3 separate regions of the Homo sapiens genome follow, and all the other regions are linked to region 2. Evidence: promoter capture Hi-C in 16 types of primary human blood cells and fetal thymus (Javierre and others, 2016). All regions are on one chromosome and are shown on one strand. Each heading gives the region's core, a stretch centred on a gene start or on the middle of the fragment in contact. The rest is flanking DNA. Distances are from core to core; before and after follow the strand shown. Region 1 has its middle 5.0 kb from the start of MAP2K3. Region 2 holds the start of WSB1 (WD repeat and SOCS box containing 1). Region 3 overlaps USP22 (ubiquitin specific peptidase 22).

Region 1 (2,700 bases), core at 156-2,655, 6.0 Mb before region 2:
ACTCATTGGTTCACGGTTACTTGGCTACTTCCTGGCCTAGATTAGAAAACAGCACTTTGAAGGCAGATATGCTGGATGCACCCGTGTTGTGGAGTCAGCCCCATTGGGACGCTTTTGCCTCTCTTCTCCCTGGTTGTGTGATCTCACGGGCAAGTTGCTTCATCTCTGTGTCTGCAGTACTTCTCACCCATCATGGGGCAATAAGAACAGCCCTGTGGTCTTGGCATCTAGATAATGAAGCACAGGATTGAACTAAAAAGGCTGACACACAGTAGGCTGTTACAGTGATGGTCTGGGTTAAAAATCTGGTGTCATCCTTCCTGGTGGTGGAACCTGGGCAAGCGCTTGAAGCCTTGGGCTTCTGTTTCTTCATCTGTAAGATGAAAGTCTAACCACACCCACTTCCCTGGGATGTGTGTCAAGTCACGAGGCCTGGCATGCAACAGGTGCCAGTAAGTGTTGTCCCCTTGACTGCCTCCTGCCTGCTGGGCAGGAAGTGCTAAGTTTGAGAACCCTGGGCAGGGAGACACCATGCTGAGGCTCCTTGGACCCCTGGACTGGTGTTGGGGACAGCCACAGGGTTGTTCGTGCAACCCTGCAGGGAACCGGGCAGGCCAGACTCAACTGCTCTGTTAGAAGCAGAGCTGGTGGCTTTCCAGAAAGCAGTGAAGGGAGCTCAAGGGGAGTTTGTTTTGCTCGGAAGCAGGGTGTTGCAAAACACTTTAGTGGAAGTGTGGGCAGGAAAAGGCAGGGAAAACTATCTCCATCTGACAGAACAGATTTCAAACAATAGCTCTGCCATTACCAGCGGTATTGGATGCTTCTGGGCACCTCTCTGAGCCTCGATTTTCTCATCTCTTTAGTGGAGATGATGATAATACTAGACACCTCGTTGGGACATTGAAAACTTTCCTCCACTCCGCAAGTATTCACTGAGCACCTACTGTGTGCCGGAGACACTGCAGTGACCAAAGCAAAGGCATTGCCCCCGTGCAGCTTGCATCACAGTGAGTCCATAAGATGCTGTGCTTGGAGGGACTAGCACATAGTAGGAGCTGTAAAAATAGGACTTGCTGTTTTGCTAGTGGAGCCAGTCACTTGTGTGAATTCATCTTTTGATATTTGAGAGTGATGATGATTTAAAGAAAGCAGGTGAGCCTCCGTTGAGGTTTCCTTCTCTATATTTCGACTTCAGAACCGGCCCCTGAGTAAAAGATGCTCAGGAACCACATATTGCTGCCTCCAAGCTTCTCAAGTTTTCACTTTTCCACCATCACCAGCATGGCCTGATGCTGTTCTGGGGAGAACCAGTCACAGGCCCTGCTTTCAAGCAGCAGGAGTCGTATGGGAGAGGCAGACAGGGGCGCAGCCACTGACAGGGCGGGTGAGCCATGGTGAGAGGGGCTGGGGCAGGGGCACTGGGCAGAGCAGTGTCAGGCAGGGCCTCCTGTCCCACCTTCAGAATTGGGCCTCGAAGGAGCGGAGGGAATGTGTCAGGTCGGAAGGTAGGGAAGGGCATTCCTGGCTAAGGGAACAGCCTTTGCAAAGAAAGGTTCAAAGAGGAAAGCTTGAATTCAGAGTGGCTGGACTGGGGGATGTCTGGAGAAGTCACCAGGGGTTGGAGTGTTGGAAGTTGCCCGCCTAGGGAGCCAGGGCAGGACTTAGAACTTGGCCAGCCGTGTTTGGGAAGGCTCTGGCTGCAGTGTGGAAGGCCTGGGGGCAGGCAGCACAGAGAAGAGGAGGCTGGATGGCCGTCAAAGCAGTGAGGGCAGTGGATCCTGTGCTCCTGGGCACTCTAGAGCACTGCCGGGCCCTGGTCACCAGAGGGCGCTGTGGGGCAGCAAGCAGTGGAGGCCCCAGCTGGTGGCAAGGCTATGCATAGACCATGTGCACCGCTGTGCCTGTGGGTTGTGTCTGTGGACGTGACCATGTGGTCCCTCCACATGAACGTACACACTTGTGCACCCCCTTGTGTCATGTGTGTGTGCATGTGTATTTGGGGTGTGTGGACTTGCACAGGTGTGAAGGGGCACGTGGGAGTGAGTACGTCCAAGGGGGTGTATATAGGTGAGAACAGGGACTCCTCAGCTCCCACCACCCAGCCACATCGGTCTCCTTGTTACTCGCCTACAAGCCATCCACCTCAGGGCCCTTGCACAACTGTTCCCTCTGCCTGGAATGCTTTTCCCCCGGATCTCTTTGTGGGTCCTTCCGTTAAGTCCTTTGGTCTCTGTTTATGTGGCACCTTCCAGGGAGGCTTTTCCTGACCTCCCTCCTTAAAATTATAGCCCCCATGTCCAGACACACACCCTGTCCCCTCCCCTACTTTCCCCCATAGCATTTGTAATAATTTTTTGTTTTTTGAGACAGGGTCTTGTTGCCCGCCAGGCTGGAGTGCAGTGGTATAACCTTGGCTCACTGCAGCCTTGACCTCCTGGGTTCAAGTGATCCTCCCACCTCAGCCTCCTGAGCAGCATGCCACCATACCCAGCCAACTTTTTTTTTTTTTTTTTTTTGTAGAGACGAGGTTTTGCCATGTTGCCCAGGCTGGTCTCAAACTGCTGGGCTCAAACGATCCACCTGCCTCGGCCTCCCAAACTGCTGGGACTATAAGTGTGAGCCACCATGCCTGGCCTGACATAATTTGACTTAGGCATTTTGCTTGTCTGGCTCACACACCAGGTCATACCTCCCCAGGGA
Region 2 (2,700 bases), core at 179-2,678:
CTGAACCCGGGAGGCAGAGGTTGCAGTGAGCCGAGTTGGCGCCACTGCACTCTGCTCTGGGAGACAGAGCAAGACTCCGTCTCAAAAAAAAAAATAAATAAATAACCAAAAAAAAAAAAAAGGAGGGGCGATGTTTTATTAAACATTTCGCTATTTGAAGAATTAATACACTCATGCAAAGAAAAGATGAAGTAAACATGCCCTACAGTGTTATCATTTGAGATCTCTTAAAAGCGGCTATGCAGCCGGGCGTGGTGGCTCACGTTGTAATCCCAGCACTTTGGGAGGCTGAGGCGGGCGGATCACTCGAGGCCAGGAGTTCGAGACTAGCCTGGCCAACAGGGTGAAACGCCCTCTGTACTAAAAATACAAAAATTACCCGGGCTTGGTGTCACATGCCTGTACAAATCCCAGCTACTGGGGAGGCTGAGGCAGGAGAATTGCCTGAACCCGGGAAACGGAGGTTGCAGTGAGCCAAGATCACGCCATTGCACCCCAGCCTGGGAGAAGCGAGACTCCGTCTCAAAAAAAAAAAAAAAAAAAAAAAAAAAAGCGGCTATGCAACACTCTACTCTGTCCCATGAATATCTGCCACATATTTGAATTCCCAGTCTTATACGCCCCAGGCCTTTGCAATGTTTAGGGTCCACACGAGAAGCCATTAAAATGCAAATACGTCATCTGTGACCGGGAACCAAGCTGGCATCTAGCAGATACTGACACATTTATCAGTCTGATGTGTGGACAACTAGGTGCCTCCCAGAGGCCTTCAGGTAAGGTGGAGGAAGGGCCAATTCTGAGCTGACACAGTGGGATCCATCTTGGCCAGGACAGTGGGATCCATCTTGGCCAGGACAAAGGCAGTCCAGAGAGGCCCCGCGGCGCGGTGCGGCGCGATCACGCCCGAGTCTCCTTCTCGTTCCCCTCGGCCCTTCCTAAAACCTGCTGGCTCAGGTCTGAACAATCGCAGCTGGACAGGTGGTGCACAACGATGTTAATTTTCATCCTGTCTTTTTCATCAGTGCATCCTTCAGTTCCCTATTACTTGTGGGCTGGGGAGTTGGCCAAATTGAGTGAAAACCTGAAATGTCTTTTTGTTCTTTTGGTTCAGCCAGTTTAAGTTCCATGCAATCTTTAAGCTAGGAGGCTAATAATAATACAATTCTCTGCTTGCCCTTTTCAAAGCCACTTCAGCTTATAAACTCCATATTAGACCATCCAGGCCCAGAAGACGCCACCGGCCTACAGGCAGAGTCAGCGGAACCAGCCTGGGCTGGATCTCCCCCTGCGAGGCCCCCAGGCAACGCCCGCGCCGGGCCGGGGAGATCACGTCCCGTGCGTCGGGAGGCGGGGGCCTCGGGCTGTGACGTCACGTGGCCGCGCCCCTGCCGCCCAGATATCTCCGGCGCCGCCCGCCATTTTGACTCCAGTGTCTCGTTTGCAGTCGGCGCTTTAGGGGAACTGTCTTCCTCCGCAGGCGCGAGGCTGGGTACAGGGTCTATTGTCTGTGGTTGACTCCGTACTTTGGTCTGAGGCCTTCGGGAGCTTTCCCGAGGCAGTTAGCAGAAGCCGCAGCGGCCGCCCCCGCCCGTCTCCTCTGTCCCTGGGCCCGGGAGGGACCAACTTGGCGTCACGCCCCTCAGCGGTCGCCACTCTCTTCTCTGTTGTTGGGTCCGCATCGTATTCCCGGAATCAGACGGTGCCCCATAGATGGCCAGCTTTCCCCCGAGGGTCAACGAGAAAGAGATCGGTGAGGATTGGGACCGTGGGTGGGCGCATGAGGGCCGAGGAGAGGCAGGGACTCCCCGGAGGAGGTTTGGGAGGAAGCGACTCCAAGTCTGAGGGAAGAGCTCCAGTGCGCCAGGGCCAGCCCACTAGCGAGGAGGAGGAAGCCGCCTCGGTGGGAGTTGGCTGAGGGGTAAACGGCACCGACGTGGATGCAGCACCTACTGTGCTCCCTCGCGGTTGCTGTGTGGCTGGGGCGGGCAAGGACCCCGGTTTCTTCGTCGGAGGTCCGCGCAGGGCTCTTGTCCTGGGAGTTCTTGGCTCAGGGCATGACTGTCGAGTGGACAGGGAAGGGCCACTCAGGGACTTTAGGTTTACAATGGGGAAAAGTAAACTTGTGGGTTGTAAGCGGTAATGAAAGGAGGGGGTCCTCGTGTGTACCAACCACTCTTAGATAGAAATGAGATGGAAGAGGTCCCAACAGCCTGGCAAAAGCAATACAGTATTTTTAAAATGGTGTGGCCTTAAGAAACGCAGCGGTTCGGGGGAGGAGACTTTTAGAATTATCTTTCAAACACTTAAGGGAGGAGCTGGGTGGTTGGGTGGAGTGACAGAAGGAAAGCTTTTGTGCGGAAGAGGAAACTCTGGAAAAGGCTTTTCTGGCTTAGTGTCTAGCCCTGGTCGGCTTAGTAAAGGGCAATTAGTGTTGAAGGTTGTGCGTCCACACCTACTTAGTGGCTCAGTGGAAAGCACGTCGCATTATTTAAATCCTCTTTTAAAGTAAAATAACTGGAACAACGTTTGACGGTGTTGGGGGGTGCTGTACATTGGCTGATAACACTTAGCAAACACTGATCTTACTGTGTGAAGTAATAATTAGCTGCGGCCGCTGAGCAGAGAGCATTTACATTTTCCTACTCTTGAAGTGAATGTGTGCCTTTACTAAGTACAAGGAGGAGTTATTTCTAGAGAAGG
Region 3 (2,700 bases), core at 187-2,686, 6.3 Mb before region 2:
CAGCCTGGGCAACATGGCAAAACTCATGGCTACCAAAAATACAAAAATTAGCCAGGTGCGGTGGCGCATGCCTGTAGTCCCAGCTACTTGGGAGGCTGAGGCAGGAGGATCACTGGACCCCAGGAACTCGAGGCTGCAGTGAGCCATGATCATACCACTGCACTCCAGCCTGAGTGAGAGACAGACCCTGTCTCAAAAAAAAAAAAAATACATAAAAAATAAAAAATTTAAAAAAGTGTTTTGAGGACACAGTGCCATAAAATTTTAGATTCAAAGAGAGAAATGGTTTTAAAAACATTACCTGTTCTCCAAAGTGTCTATATTCAAAATATAATGTAGAATGTTAAATCATAATCACTTCCTGCCAGTTCCTATCTTTACAGACAAACCCTGAAATGGTAAGAAATTTGTTATATTTAACACACACCAAAAACACAAAGGAGACGCCACTGTGGTCGTGCCAGTCCTAAATCATGGAAATAGTTTTTTTCTTTTTTTTTGAGACGGTCTCGCTCTGTCGCCCAGGCTGGAGTGCAGTGGTGCGATCTCGGCTCACTGCAACCTCCGCCTCCCTGGTTCAAGCGATTCTCCTGCCCCAGCCTCACGAGTAGCTGGGATTACAGGCGCGTGCCACCATGCCCAGCTAATTTTGTGTATTTTTAGTAAAGACATGGTTTCACCGTGTTAGCCAGGATGGTCTCGATCTCCTGACCTCGTGATCCGCCCGCCTCGGCCTCCCAACGTGCTGGGATTACAGGCGTGAGCCACCATGCCCGGCAGAAATATTTTTATAGTCTGCAATACAAGAGTTTTATGGCAATTCGGGCCAGGCGCGGTGGCTCATGCCTGTAATCCCAGCACTTTGGGAGGCCAAGATGGGCGGATCACCTGAGGTTGGGAGTTCGAGACCAGTCTGACCAACATGAAGAAACCCCATCTCTACGAAAAATACAAAATTAGCCAGGCATGGTGGCGCATGCCTGTAATCCCAGCTACTTGGGAGAATCACTTAAACCCTGGAGGGGGAGGCTGTGGTGAGCCGAGATCACGCCATTGCCCTCCAGCCTGGGCAAAAAGAGTGAAAACCCCATCTCAAAAAACAGAGTTTTACTGCAATTCAAGCTTCTTTTGGACAGAAATTTATCAAGCCTGGTCATGTTTTTGTCATGTTCTGCCTGTTAAAAGAAGAATCAAAGTTTGGGTACAAAATGCATAATCCATCTGTCCTTAGATAACAAAACTCGTAATTCCTATTCATTCAGGGATTCATTTCTTTAAACTGTACCTGAGATGTCCATCTCAAAAAGTACCTTTGTTTGTTTACAAAGATTATAATTCAAGTTGAAGTTTGTTTTGAGATAGGTTTTGTTGTCCAGGCTGGAGTACAGTGGCACAATCATCAGCTTAAAGTACTTTTACAGTCAAGTTCATATCATTAAAACCAAAAATATGGCTGGGCTCAGTGGCTCTGGCCTGTAATCCCAGCACTCTGGGAGACAGGAGGATGGCTTGAGTCCAGGAGTTCAAGACCAGCCTGTGCAATATAGTGAGACACTGTCTCTACAAATATTAGCCGGTCGTGGTGACACACGCCCGTAGTCCCAGCTACTCAGGAGAGGCTGGAGTCCAGGAATCTGAGGCTGCAGTGATCACTGACCAGACCATTGCACTCCATCCTGGGTAACAGAGCAAGACTCTGTCTCTACAAAAAATAATTTTTAATAAAATAAAATTTAAAAAACAAAATGTCCTAAGCTTACAGATCTGATGGAAATCCTATGCAGATTGTCCAACTGTTAATCATCAGGTTTGTTAAACTATTTCCCAAACCAACTCTTCCTTAACTGGGCCACTAGAGAGTGCTAGAAATGCAGGACACCGCACATGAAGTGATACAGGTAAATAAGTCCCCCCAGTCAGAGGAAAAAGCATGGAGGGCTTAAGGGCTCCTTGCTGGCACACTGCCAACTGGCACTGCAGCAGCCCCCACCTAAATTTTGAAAGAAATATTTTTCACTACCCGACTACAGTTCAACTTCTAATTGGTGAATAACATACATGTGGCTCAACAGTTTTGAAACTAAGCAACTGACATCTGAAATTAAAAGATTAATCAGAGCCATAAGTAGCGCAAAAAAAAAAAGTAATTCTTAACTTTAGGAAATTAGGCAAAGTTAGTTAATGATGGTTTAAACTTGACTCCTTCTATTTGGTTAAAAAATACCAGAGGGGGGAAGAAAGGGAGAGGGAGGGAGGGAACGGAAAAAGAAAAGGAGGGAGAGGAAGAGTGGGGCGGTCCCCACTTCATCCAAAGTAGTAACAAATCTTGGGCGCGTCACGTCCCAATCCGGACACTACTGACCCAGAGTAGCAACAGCACATTCCCTGTAGAAGACTGGCTTCAACCAGGCCACCCTTTTTTTTTTTTTTCCGGAGGGGGTCTTGCTCTGTCACCCAGTCTGGAGTACAGTGGCGCGATCACTGCTCACTGCAACCTCCGCCTCCCGGGTTGAAGTGATTCTCCTGCCTCAACCTCTGGAGTAGCTGGGATTACAGGCGCCCGCCATCACACCCGGCTACTTTTCGTATTTTTAGTAGAGATGAGGTTTCACCATGTTGGCCAGGCTGGTCTCGAACTCCTGACCTCGTGATCTGCCCCCCTCGGCCTCCCCACGTGCTGGGATTACAGGCGTCAGCCAC

Evidence for each region. The method cuts DNA at HindIII sites, captures the fragments that hold promoters and counts their contacts. A CHiCAGO score of 5 or more calls a contact.
Region 1: a contact is called between a fragment that was not itself captured here and the fragment with the promoter of WSB1 in region 2, in 1 of 17 cell types (fetal thymus). The highest score is 6.0, in fetal thymus.
Region 3: a fragment that was not itself captured here is called in contact with the fragment with the promoter of WSB1 in region 2 in 1 of 17 cell types (fetal thymus); the score reaches 8.0 in fetal thymus.

Annotation. Positions count from the first base shown.
Region 1 is chr17:21,278,355-21,281,054 of GRCh38, forward strand. No RefSeq gene overlaps it. Among named protein-coding and RNA genes, the nearest start is that of MAP2K3, 5.0 kb to the right of the region's middle. RefSeq lists an enhancer at 1,653-1,732. The HindIII fragment of the contact is 320 bases long and covers 1,246-1,565 here.
Region 2 is chr17:27,292,686-27,295,385 of GRCh38, forward strand. WSB1 (WD repeat and SOCS box containing 1) reads left to right here and starts at 1,429. Exons shown (of 9, transcript NM_015626.10): 1 at 1,429-1,750. The coding sequence starts at 1,711. MIR4522 (microRNA 4522) reads right to left here and starts at 1,311; the gene lies at 1,225-1,311. RefSeq lists enhancers at 1,158-1,207, 1,578-1,637, 1,648-1,707 and a silencer at 1,248-1,457. The HindIII fragment of the contact is 5,795 bases long and covers 1-2,345 here.
Region 3 is chr17:21,038,472-21,041,171 of GRCh38, forward strand. All of the region lies in intron 1 of USP22 (ubiquitin specific peptidase 22), which reads right to left. Among named protein-coding and RNA genes, the nearest start is that of USP22, 3.2 kb to the right of the region's middle. The HindIII fragment of the contact is 633 bases long and covers 1,121-1,753 here.